Regions from separate parts of the Homo sapiens genome. Here all the other regions are linked to region 2. Evidence: promoter capture Hi-C in 16 types of primary human blood cells and fetal thymus (Javierre and others, 2016). All regions are on one chromosome and are shown on one strand. The core of a region is centred on a gene start or on the middle of the fragment in contact, and the rest is flanking DNA. Distances in the headings are between cores, read along the strand shown. Region 1 overlaps DLEC1 (DLEC1 cilia and flagella associated protein). Region 2 holds the start of XYLB (xylulokinase). Region 3 overlaps ACVR2B (activin A receptor type 2B).

Region 1 (3,813 bases), core at 312-2,811, 240 kb before region 2:
TTGTGTGGAGGTAGTACATAGATGTTGTTTTATTATTCGTTAAACTATATATATGTTTAAACTGTATATATGTTTTATACTCATTTTTGCATATATTTGGTGTTTCATTGTAAAAACATTTAAATGCTCATTTAAATCTCTGTGGATGCTCTTGAATTATCCTCCAAAAAGACTGTGTCATTTTATACTTCTGCCTACAGTGTGTGAGACTAGCCATTACCCCACACTTTCACCATGACAAATGTTGTTGGACTTTGTATACTTGACCATCTGACAGTTGTTCAAATGTCCCCTCCTGTGATAACAAATACAGGTCTAGGTATGAGTCTTTGCATTGGTCCTTCAGGGCAATTTGCGGGCATTAGATGTGAAGGCTAAGTCTGCCTGCAGCTCAGGGGAAGGGCTTTCTATTAAGTCTGTGCTTATTTCCTTTCCTTTTCTGTCTCTGTTCTTTCTCCTGAAAGGACCTTGTATTATCAGAATGTTTACAGTAGCAGGTGATGGAAACACAGACATTACCAACTTAGGCAAAAAAGAGGAAGCATTGGCTCACGTAACTGGGCATTCCCACCTTGCTGAATCCAAGGGCCCAACACTTTTCCCTTTGTCTGGTCTTCTGCTTCCTCTCTTTCTCTACCCTCTTTCCCCCTTCTCTACCTCCATCCCAGCCCCAACCCATCTACTGCTCTTTTTTTGTGGGCCCTTCTCTCCCCTATTGACAAGGGCCCTTCGCACTCTGCCTTGGGGAGAGGCCACTTAGAGCTCCAGGCTCACACACTCCCACCTTAACAATCTCTGAGAGCCAATCTGGCTCTTTGCAGAGATAGGCCCTGATTGCTCTTGCTCTTGTGTGGGTCATGTACCCGCCCCTTCCCCTGCTGGGTGACAGGGAGGATCTGTCTCCAGAAGAGGCAATCATGTTTCGAAATTTCAAGCTTTGTTGTTCTTGCGTCTTTCCTTTTCTATAGTAATCTGTTATAGTCTTATCAATGCAACAGCCTCTCAGATTCCCCCAAGAAAATGAATTTCTGTTTTCCCAGATGTTGGAGTTCTTCTTTACTTTTTGAGTTTTCTTCTGCTTCTAGTAATCTTTGCCTGTCCAGTCCTGTTTTTGAATGGAGGAGGAAGTTGATTTGCATAAGGAGCTGGTGTTGTAAGTTTCTTCTGAGTAAAAGGGGGTAGATGTGGAGAGCACCCCTATTCTAAGGGATGAAGTACATGTGAGTCACCACCCTCAGAGCACACAGCTAGCCTGAATCCATCAGAGAAAGGGACCTTTGGGGAAAACAGCCCTAAACAAACAGTGGAGAAAACCCATACTGGGCAGCTACACAAATCAATTCGTGCCTTCATTCATAAATAAGAATGAAGGAATAGCATCTTTCTGGTTGTTTCCTCCTCATGACAGTTGAGAGGTCCAGTGTTACTGCAGGCTCTGCCCTGGCCTCTCTCCAGCGTGATACCCACAGTCTTCAGTGGGGGCAAATACTGTGGCAGCCCAGTCTTTTTCTTAATTTTCAATTTTAATTTTTATTATTTGTACAAATTTATGGGGTACATGTGCAATTGTGTTATGTGCGTAGATTATATAGTGGTCAAGTCAGGGCTTTAGGGTATCCATCACCCAAATAGCATACATTGTACTCATGAACTAATTTCTCATCACCCATTTCCCTCCTATGCCCTCACCCTTCCGAGTCTCCGTTGTCTATCATTCCAATCTCTATGTCCATATGTACACGTTTTTAGCACCCACTTGAGTGAGATCATGTGATATTTGACTTCTGTGCCTGGGGCAGCCCACTCTTCCATGTGTTGCTCTGAGCTCTGGGGCTGGAGCCCTGACCTGGCTAAGCCAATGGATCTTCAGCAGTGCTTTGCTCAGCTCCCCCGCCCTTTGATGCCCTCATTCCATCATTAAGGATTGCATTGCACGTAACCTGTGCAGGGATTTCAAGCAGCAGTTTTGTTCTCCTCTGTTTTATCAGTTAACCTGATCACATTATTTCTTTCTCCTATTTTCTTTTCCTTGTTTGCATAACATTTTATTTGCTTTATTATCTTTTACTTCAAAATTTTCACAAATAGGGCATTTGCTAGATATTACATTTCTTTGCATTCACAATTTGTCTGTTTGGCACAAAGCTAGCTTTCTGCCTGTGTCAGCTTTGAATGTGCCTTCCTCACTAAGCTTAATCATTTTTTAGCTTAATCATTTTGATTTAAAGTGAGATACGTACGACTCTTCTTTTCACTTGAAGACTTAGAGGCTATTGTAGGGTTATCAGTTGGTCTAATTTCAATATTGTTGTGTCTCAAGGAATAGGGAGGCCTGAGGAGAGGGAGAGAGACGGAAATGACCAGTAAGTAGAGCAGTCAAAATGCACACAGCATTTACCAGTTGAGCCCATTATCGTATATGATTGCTGTTTATGGCACCCCAAAACAATTACAGTAGTAACATCAAAGATCACTAATCACAGGTTACCATAACAGCTATAGCAAAAAAGTTTGCAAGACATGACACAGAGACATGAAATGAGGACATGCAATTGGAAAAATGACATTGATAGGCTTGCTCAATGCAGCGTTGTCACAAACCTTCGATTTGTAAAAATCACAGTATCTGTGAAGTACAATAAAGCAGAGCATAATAACATGAGGTATGTTTGTAACTGAATTTCTTATATAGGTCAATTTAGACTTTTTTCTTGGCCAGGCACAGTGGCTCATGACTGTAATCCCAGCACTTTGGGAGGCTGAGGTGGACGGATCACCTAAGGTCAGGAGTACGAGACCAGGCTAGCCAACATGGTGAAACCCCATTTCTACTAAAAATACAAAAATTAGCCGGGTGTGGTGGTGCACACCTGTAATCCCAGCTACTCGGGAGGCTGAGGCATGAGAATAGCTTGAACGTGGGAGGCAGAGGCTGCAGTGAGCCGAGATTGTGCCACTGCACTCCAGCCTGGGCAACAGAGCAAGACTCTGTATGCCCCACCCCATCCCCCCAAAAAAAGATTTTTTTTTTTTTCTCAGTTTTGGTAGTTTGCATCACTCTAGGAATTTAGGAATTTGTCCATTTTATCTGTGATGTAATTTGTTGGTACATAGTTGTTAGTGGTATTCTCTGATAATTATTTTTATTTCTGTATGATCAGTAGTGATGTCCCCACTTTCATTCCTGATTTCTCTAATTTGAATCTTCAGCAAATTTTTCTTGGTCAGTCTAGTCTAGCTAAAGGTTTATCAATGTTGGTGATATTTTCAAAGAACCAGCTTTTGCTTTTGTTGATTTTCTGTAATGTTTTTCTATTTTCTATTTCATTTATCTCTGCTTTCTAGTCTTTATTATTTCTGTCCTTCCACTTGCTTTGGGTTTAGTTTGCTCTTCTCTTTCTAGTTTCTTAAGGTAAAAGCTGAGGTTTTTGATTTGCAATCTTTCTTTTTTGTTTGTTTAAAGAAAATTGTATTTACAAATATAAATTTTCCTCTAACCACTCCCTTAGTTGCATCCTATAACTTTTCATATATCATGTTTTCATTTTCATTGATATAAAAGTATTTTCTAATTTTTCTTGTGGTTTCTTATTTGACTTGTTTATGAATGTGTTATTTAATTTGCACATATTTTGTTTCACAAATTTCTTTCTGTTGTTGATTTCTAATTTGATTCTATTGTTGTTGGAGAACCCACTTTATATAATTATAGTCGTTTAAAACTTATTGAGACTTGTTTTATGGGCTATTCTGGAGAATATTCCTTGTGCACTCGAGAAAAATAATGTATTCTGCTGTTATTGTGTAGAGTGT
Region 2 (4,316 bases), core at 1,352-3,851:
CCAATTTATCAAGACAGGGGGACTGCAATAGAGAATGAGTAATTCACACAGAGCCAGCTGTGTAGGAGACCAGAGTTTTATTATTACTCAAATCAGTCTCCCAGAGCATTTGGGAATCAGAGTTTTTAAGAATAATTTGGTGGGTGGGTGGAGGCCAGTGAGTTGGGAGTGCTGATTGGTTGGGTCGGAAATGAACTCATAGGAATTTGAAGCTATCTTCTTGTGCTGAGTCAGTTCCTGGGTGGGGGCCACAAGATCAGATGAGCCAGTTTATGGAGCTGGGTGGTACCAGCTGATCCATCAAGTGCAGGGTCTCTAAAATATCTCAAGCACTGATCTTAGGTTTTACAATAGTGATGTTATCCCCAGGAGCAATTTGGTGATGGTCAGAATCTTGTAGTCTCCAGCTGCATGACTCCTAAACCTTAATTTCTAATCTTGTGGCTAATTTGTTAGTCCTACAAAGGCAGTCTAGTCACAGGCAAGAAGGAGATTTGTTTTGGGAAAGAGCTGTTATCATCTTTGTTTTAAACTATAAAGTAAGTTCCTCCCAAAGTTAGTTCTGCCTATGCCCATGAATAAGCAATGACAGCTTGGAGGCTAGAAGCAAGATGGAATTGGTTAAGTCAGATCTCTTTCACTGTCTCAGTTATAATTTTGCAATGGCAGTTTCATTAGGCCACGTTAACTAACTTCTCTACACCTCAGTTTCTCACTCTGTAAAATGAAGATGGTAAGTTATACGAAGTTCAAAGTGAGTTTATACTGGTAGACATCAGAATAGTGATTGCCTTGGGAGTTTAGGAAGGGTCATGAAGGAAACTTCTGGAGTGGTGGAAATGTTCTGTTTTGATCTCAGTGTTTATATGGGTATATACATACATTTTTAAAAAGTCATTGGCCAGGCACGGTGACTCACGCCTGTAATCCCAGCACTTTGGGAGGCTGAGGCAGGTGGATCACATGAGGTCGGAGTTTGAGACCAGCCTGACCAACATGGTGAAACCCCATCTCTACTAAAAATACAAAATTAGAGCCATACGCAGTGGCTCACGCTTGTAATCCCAGCACTTTGAGAGGATGAGGCAGGCGGAACACCTGAGGTCGGGAGTTCAAGACCAGCCTAACAAACATGGAGAAACCTCGTCTCTACTAAAAATACAAAATTAGCTGGGCGTGGTGGCGGATGCCTGTAATCTCAGCTACTCGGGAGGCTGAGGCAGGAGAATCACTTGAACCCAGAAGGCAGAGGTTTCAATGAGCTGAAATCACGCCATTGCACTCCAGCCTGGGCAACAAGAGTGAAACTCCGTTTCAAAAAAAAAAAAAAATTAGCTGGGTGCGGTGGTGTGCGCCTGTAATCCCAGCTACATGGGAGGCTGAGGCAGAAGAATCAGTTGAACCAGGGAGGTGGAGGTTGCAGTGACCGGAGATCACGCCACTGCACTCCAGCCTGGGTGACAGGAGTGAAACTCTGTCAAAAAAAAAAAAAAAAGTCATCAAGCAGTTAAGATTAGATTAAAATGCAGTAATCTAATCTTAATTAGATTAGATACTTAGATACCTTTATTTAAAATTTTTTAAAAGTGGAGATAATAGTACCTACTTCCCAGCATCATTGTGACGATTAAATGTGCTCAGCAGGTTGCATAATTGTTTCTGATCTAGCTAGTATCCAGTATTTGTCTATTGTCACAGGTGGTGACTGCTGGAGGGGCTGAGTCCCCAATAAGCTGTGAATGTCTTGGAGGACAAGTATGTTGGCCCCTTCTTGTTCTAGCAGTGAAGAGGATCCCATGTAGACTCCAAGCAGCTCAAGTTCAGCAAGGGAGACAGACCATTGCAAGTGCATGAAAAGGGCACTGGTGGGCTGGGAAGTTCGTAGGAGGAGCCTCTCACATGCTGGGTTTGGGGAGGAATTCTGGAAAGCAGTTAGTCTTAGGGACGGGAAGGATGTAGCTGGTGGGACAGGCGCCCTCAGCTCCATGAATAAAAGGAGTGGGTCTGACTCTGGTTCTCATTCCCCTTTACCATGCCTGGCACACATTAGACCATCAATACCAATTGACTCCAGGAAGGAGTGTCTCCCCGTGGGGGCATCAGGAGCCGCTGAGTTTAAATACACAGGTGGGATGTGACACACTGGGAACCATTCAGATTTGCTGGATCTGGATAGGGCTTGTCAGGACTCAGTGCTTCCAACCCCAGGGCCCATTTCCCTGTGGCCCCTGAGTCACCACCATGGGTGGACAGCTGCTCCAGTGCCAAGATACAGCCACAGAGGACGGCAGGCCCAGGGCCTCCAGAAGGACAGGCAGGCTCCCTCTGAAAGACAAGCCGGCTTATAGCTGAAACCTCTGGCCCAGGCGTCCTCTAAGGGAAGCCAGGCGGTGTCAGGGCACGGCCCATGAAGACATAAGATGAAGATGGGGAGAACCAGAGGGGGTGCGCTTCGAAGGAAAGCGGGCTGCGTGGGGGCACCGTCGATTGCACAGGACGCGGTCCCGGCTCGCGTAGCCCCGCAGGCGGCGCCAGAGCGCAAGCCCGCCTCGTGACTCCGGTCCACAGTCCGGCCGGGCGGAGCTAGGGGCGGGCCCCTGCGTCTCTGGGCGCTGGAGCGCGGCGACTATCACGCCGCGTGGCGGACGGACGGACTGACGGACGCGCAGCCTTACCCGAAAGGCCATGGCGGAGCACGCCCCTCGCCGCTGCTGCCTGGGCTGGGACTTCAGCACGCAGCAGGTACAGTCGCCTGGCCGCAGGGCCACGGGGCCGCCTCCTCCGCTTCGGTGGGGGTAGGGGGCGGGCTGTCACCCGGACGCGGGAAAACATGGGCCCGGCCGCGGGCGCGCCTACCTCTCGGGCTTCCCGGGGCCCCCGCGCCCCTGCCCTGCGCGCGGCCGTGGGGCGCCGGTGCCCTCGCCCGGAGATGCCCTGCCAATGCCACCCGCTCGCAAGATGCGGCCTCGACCCCGCCTGGACCCAGCTACCCCAGGAAACTGCAGGCGCTCCTCGGCAGGACCCCCGGTGCCCAGAGGGGCCGGAGGACTCGGCGGGTTCCTGCGCTGTTCTGGGCACCCAGTGACGGGGATCCGAAGGAAGTCAGCTACTGTAAGGCAGGGGAACAGACAGGCGGGTAGCCCTGCGCACATGCACAACCAGTGACCTGGAAGCAGATTATAGCCCAAAACCTTTTTTTAAAAATTGAAATGGCCCAGGCCTGGTGGCTCTTGCCGGTAATCCCAGCACTTTGGGAGGCCGAGGCGAGTGGATCGCTTGAGCCCAGGAGTTCGAGACCAGCCTGGGCAATATGGAGAAACCCCGGTCTCTACCAGAAAATACAAAAATTAGCCGGGCATGGTGGAGCACACCTGTAGTCCCAGTTTTTCTGGAGGCTGAAGCGGATCGCTTGAGCCCAGGAGGTGGAGATTGCAGTGAGCTAAGATGGCGTCACCGGTCTCCAGCCTGGGCGACAGAACGGGACCCTGTCTCAAAAAAAAAAAAAGAAAAAAGTGAAATGCATAGTGTACAAGTGGACTTTACCCTGTGACCGCCCTTCGTTGACACCAGCTTGCCTGGTCTGTGCACCCAGGACTGCTGGCCAGAGGAGCAGTGTGCTGCTGCCAACGCCCTGCAGACAGGCAAGCAAATCAAAATTTGCCTTCAAAGAGGGCATGGGGTGACCGGGGGCACCTTTTCCTTTAAAGTACTTGGGAAATATACACAGTTGCAGTCAAACCCCTCTTCTCGAATGGGTCAAGGGAGGCAGGCCTCTGGCCAGTCCTTGGGGGAACGTCCTGTGGGACTCTGGATGACTCGAGTTGCCTTGCTGGACCTCAGTTTTCCCATCTGTCCAGGAAAGGAGTTATACTCCCAAGCTTGGAGATTGCTTCAGTGGGACATTAATGTCTCTGGACCACAATCATGGCCTGTGAGAATAGCCCATGGCCTTGCCTGGTCTCAGGCCTCTGCAGACATGGATCCCCAGAGATGCCTCCAAACCTTGCTTCCCATTCCTTCCTCTCTGGCACTTTCTCCCGCCTCCTTGTCAGGTGCACGAACCAACTCATCTGTGAACATCTTCCTCTAGAGGGTCTTGGCTTTGGCTATTTGGGGAACAAAGATTCCTTGAGACATGTGGGTGTTCCTACTTAGCCTCAGTTTCTTCATTTTACTAAATCTTTGAGTGTTACCCCAGATGAGTCCTCTGTTACCACGATTACGGTGAGGCAGCCCTGCCTTCAAGGAGGTCTCTAGGTTGAACTGCTCCTAGGGTGTGGGGCCTCATCTGGTGACGTTAGTACCCCCTGGACCAG
Region 3 (4,133 bases), core at 521-3,020, 140 kb after region 2:
TGCTTGTCTGTTTGCTGTCATGTGTTCTTTGAGGAGTGAGCCATCTCGAGCCCTGCTTTGAATTTACTGGGTCATAGAGCCTCTGCCTGTGCTCTTTTCCATAATGACTTCATGTGACATGCACTTTTGGTGGGCTCAGATAATTGGTTTCTTTTTGTTTTTGACCTCAGGCTCTGTGGCAGACTGGGGAAAATGGGGCCTGGCATCATTTTCCCTGTCAATGGGAGGGGCTGTTCCATGCAGGGTGGGAGGGGACCAAGTTAGCAGAGAGTAGCCAAGGATCCTTGCTTCTTCCTTTCTAGTGTGCTGTCATCCAAGCAGGCTCCTGGCTGTAGGGATGGGCCTTGGGGAAGAATCTTCTTTGAAAGCATCTATGATAACTGAGAAGTCATCCCTAGTTGGAGAAATCCAGTAATGAGCAGAAGGAGGAAGCAAGTGAGGACAGAGGCCATTGTATTACAGTGTCACGCAGAGGGCCCTCAATGATGGGGCATTGGGGAAGGCTGTAGACATAGTCATCAGAACATCCTGGCCTGGCATAAGCTGGGTTTTCTCCTGGGACCATTGGTCCTCAGCAGGAGTTCTTTGCATGAGTTGCTCAGGGGCAAGGGCTGCAAGTGGGCTGTGCTTAGGAGAAAGTGACACCTGGCAGTGAGGGAAGATGGTGAGCATTATTAGCCTTTGTTGTCCAGCATGGCCTTCTTGTCCTGTCTGCTCTGGAGAGGAGCCTGTGGGACCAGTCCTGCCTGGGGAGGGCATACCCACACGTGCCAGCTGATTCTGACTCTGAATACATCATGTCCGGACTTGGGGGTGTTTCTGCAGAAAAAGGAGGTTGTTTTTCAGCCTTGAACATCTTCAGGAGGATAGAGACTCTTGCTCACATATTCTTAGCAAAGGGAAGGGTCTCTCATCTCCAGGCCACAGAGATAGTTCTTCCATTGCCCTAAGAGGCTAGGCTAACCCTCTTGACATAACTTAGACAGCAAAGCACTTCATCCTGTAGTTGGGCTCTGTCACCTTTCTCTTCAGTTGGCCACATTCTCGTTTCCTCCATCCTGCTATGCTTTGTGTGCTCGGGCTGTGTGTGGGGTTTTTCCCTGGTGGAAGGAAGCCCAGCTGTGTATTGAATGTCCTTCATGTGTTGTGTGTGGCTCAGAAAGCCTGTCACTTGGCCCCTGTGCTCTGAGCCGTGAGGGTGGGGAGGTGGCTGTTCCATTAAAGTGGGAGTATTGGATGGCCCTCTTGAAACTAGAATTTTGCCTTTTTTAGTATGCAGTATAAAGTTTCCAGCATCTATTGGTAACACAAAGATTTGCTGGTTTTTAAAATAATACAGTAAGCATAAGTATGTAAGTTTTTAGAATTGGTACTAGAAGTTGGACAGCTAGTTATTCTCGAGAACTTTATTTCACTAGAAAAATATACTAATTGGAAAGCAGTTTCCAGGAGTTAACTCAGTTTAATTTTCAGTCTCAGTTATTTTAGCCTGTTGAGTTTTTGATGGCACACCTTTGGAGAGATGGCCACGCCTGATTCCCATTTCAGGGGCATCAGACCATACCTTTTTAAGAAGCTCCGTGAATCTAGTCATCTACCCTTCATCCTGGGCGAACAGCCAAAAAGAGAAGGGGACAAGGTGTCTTTTTCTCCTTCTCACTGGGGTGACATGAATTCTTTTAGTTAATGGCTGTTTGCAAATTCTAAACTAATGAAATACTTAGCAGCTAACATGTTCAATCTAGTAATGATGAGTTTAAATCTCAATTGACAGTAATGTTTTAGATAAACAGGCCCAGTAATTCAGTTGATGAACTGTATATCTTCTCAGTCTAGATTTGTAAATGTTTAATGAATTCAGGGTTATAAGCATAGTTCTTTAAGTAAGATTCCAGATAGTTGATTTGCAACCAGCAGTCTACCTATGAATGTATCCCAAACCTTTAGAAGATTGGAAAAGATTTTTGAAATAATGATTTAGTTTTGTAGGAAAAACACCCCCTTGAAAATTAATTCGGTTGACCCAGTAACATTTTTTAAAACAATTGGTGGCTCCAAAAGGCCTGCCAACAAAGAAAAGTCCAAATTATCTAGTGGGACATTTTGAATGTTTTATGTTTATTTTGGGTCCACTGTAAACTTTGGTTCAAAAAAGAATTTGAATTTAAAGAATTTACCATTATTTAAATTATTACCAAGTTTTTACATTTTCATGATGGTATTTTCCAGGTATGAATGAAACATGACTTTTTGATTGTGGTACTTCCTGTATCCCCTGTAGTGCCAAAACCAGTGATACTTTATTTGCTCCTATGGCAGCTCATAGAGGTAACCGAAGTGATTTTTCCTCAGTAATTGAAACACATATTCTCTAAATGCCAATGTGTGGTGATGGGCCCTGCACTGCCTTCATTTCTCTAGGGCAGTGTCTTTGGATTGTCTAGGGCCTAGGTAATTCTGAGAACTACTGTAAACCAACCACAGGGCACTAAAGCAATGTACACACCACTCTTTGTGTGTATGGAAGGGGTTATATAAACCTGGGCTATGCTGGACATCTACAGAAGAGTATTACATTCACTTGCAAAGTTTACATTTTTGAGCTCACAGTTATGAAAAATATGACCCACAAGTTTTTCAGGCAGGTGAGGATGGGTCTTCTTGCAAATGCATGAGTTCTGTCTTGAGTCCTGGGAACTTCTCTGTTGGTTGAGTGTGGGCTCATTCCCTGACTCTCCTAATCATGTTTGCGTCAGAATGTTAGCATTGTAAATAAAAGAATAGGTTGTATAATAGATACACAACACTTGAAACTTTACTTTAAAAAAATCGATAGTTCTACATATATATTTAGTTATATCACTTGACAGATTTCTTCTACACAGTGTGGAGATTGTTTTATACCACAGATTATTTTTATAAAGTTAGTGAATTTGAATGATTTTGTAATCAGAGCTAATGAGCTTTACCTTTCAAGAGAAACGTACACTGGAGCATGAGTGGTGTGGAACTTTTACTTAGTGTTTATATGGATTCTTGTGATACACTGGCAGACTGGAGTCAATTTGCGGGTCTTTTTTGGCCAAAACTCCACTTGTGGTTGTGTAGGACAGTGATATTCAGCTCAGCTTCTTGTGGATTGGGAGGAGAGAGGGCCTGCAATGTGTTTTACATTGGTGCTTCCTCCTGAGATTTCTGTTGAACAAAGGGTTCTGAGGTCAAAAATTAGTTTGTAAGCCTTTGCCATAGGACATAGTCATGTGAGAGTGTTTGGGGGAACAGAAATTGTATAGGGGTGCCTATTGGGGTGGGATGGGACTCGAATAAGATTCAGGTACAAAAACTTTGAAATGAGAATCTGGTGGTTTGAGTAATCCACCAGACTGAATTATCTAAGATCACATTATCCAGGTTGGGGGGCAGAATTACCCAGTTAAGTAATTGTTCAGAAAAGTGGGGAGGGTGGCATGTGGATGCAGTGATCCAATTAAATGGAGAGCTGCCAGGCACATTTTGTCCTCTCTGGTCAGTGAGAATGGTTGGGTTGGCTCGCTGCTTCAATCTGTGGAATCAGCCAGGAGCCCAGTGAGGAAGCTCAGAACCCCAGTAACAGCAGAGCATCTTTCAGATAGCTCCAGAGTTTTCCTGCTTTTCTGAGGAAGCTCAGCATCACTGCCACAATACGGAAAGTGGTCTTCATTTTAGCCTATTTATTTTTAGGCAGAGAGTGGATGGTTATTTGTGTGGGACTTTTGGTGGCGATATATAATGAATAATTAAGTTAATTTCTGGTATGCATAATGGCCAGTCCTGAGGCCCAGCTGAAGACCTGTCCCCCAGACCCTGCCCGCTGGCTTCAGGCTGCTGCTTCTAGACAGAGGTGCACTGGACGGGATAGTTTTATCAAGAGAATCCCTAATGTGTCATTTTAAACCAGCTGTGCTTTTTATTCATTCTGGTTGAGCGTATAGGTTTACACTTTACCCTTTTTATACTTGGAATAAATTTAGTTCCAGCAGATCTAGTAGCACTCCAGAAACCAACCCCATCTGTTCCCCATAAAAAGAACATTTTCTCTGCTCTCCAGCCACGTGTCTTGGAATGTAATTCTGTTGTGCCTTTGTTTTTATCAC

What was found. The method cuts DNA at HindIII sites, captures the fragments that hold promoters and counts their contacts. A CHiCAGO score of 5 or more calls a contact.
Region 1: a fragment that was not itself captured here is called in contact with the fragment with the promoter of XYLB in region 2 in 2 of 17 cell types (neutrophils and megakaryocytes); the score reaches 7.2 in neutrophils.
Region 3: a contact is called between a fragment that was not itself captured here and the fragment with the promoter of XYLB in region 2, in 2 of 17 cell types (total CD4 T cells and total CD8 T cells). The highest score is 6.8, in total CD4 T cells.

The regions. Positions count from the first base shown.
Region 1 is chr3:38,101,462-38,105,274 of GRCh38, forward strand. All of the region lies in intron 19 of DLEC1 (DLEC1 cilia and flagella associated protein), which reads left to right. It overlaps LOC105377033 (a long non-coding RNA gene), which reads right to left. Exons shown (of 2, transcript XR_940727.3): 2 at 2,029-2,332. Among named protein-coding and RNA genes, the nearest start is that of ACAA1, 34 kb to the right of the region's middle. The HindIII fragment of the contact is 1,256 bases long and covers 934-2,189 here.
Region 2 is chr3:38,344,184-38,348,499 of GRCh38, forward strand. It overlaps XYLB (xylulokinase), which reads left to right and starts at 2,602. Exons shown (of 19, transcript NM_005108.4): 1 at 2,602-2,742. The coding sequence starts at 2,686. RefSeq lists enhancers at 2,379-3,210, 3,211-4,042 and silencers at 2,769-3,008, 3,019-3,078. The HindIII fragment of the contact is 4,748 bases long and covers 1-3,876 here.
Region 3 is chr3:38,486,420-38,490,552 of GRCh38, forward strand. It overlaps ACVR2B (activin A receptor type 2B), which reads left to right. Exons shown (of 11, transcript NM_001106.4): 11 at 1-4,133. Among named protein-coding and RNA genes, the nearest start is that of EXOG, 7.9 kb to the right of the region's middle. The HindIII fragment of the contact is 4,781 bases long and covers 1-4,133 here.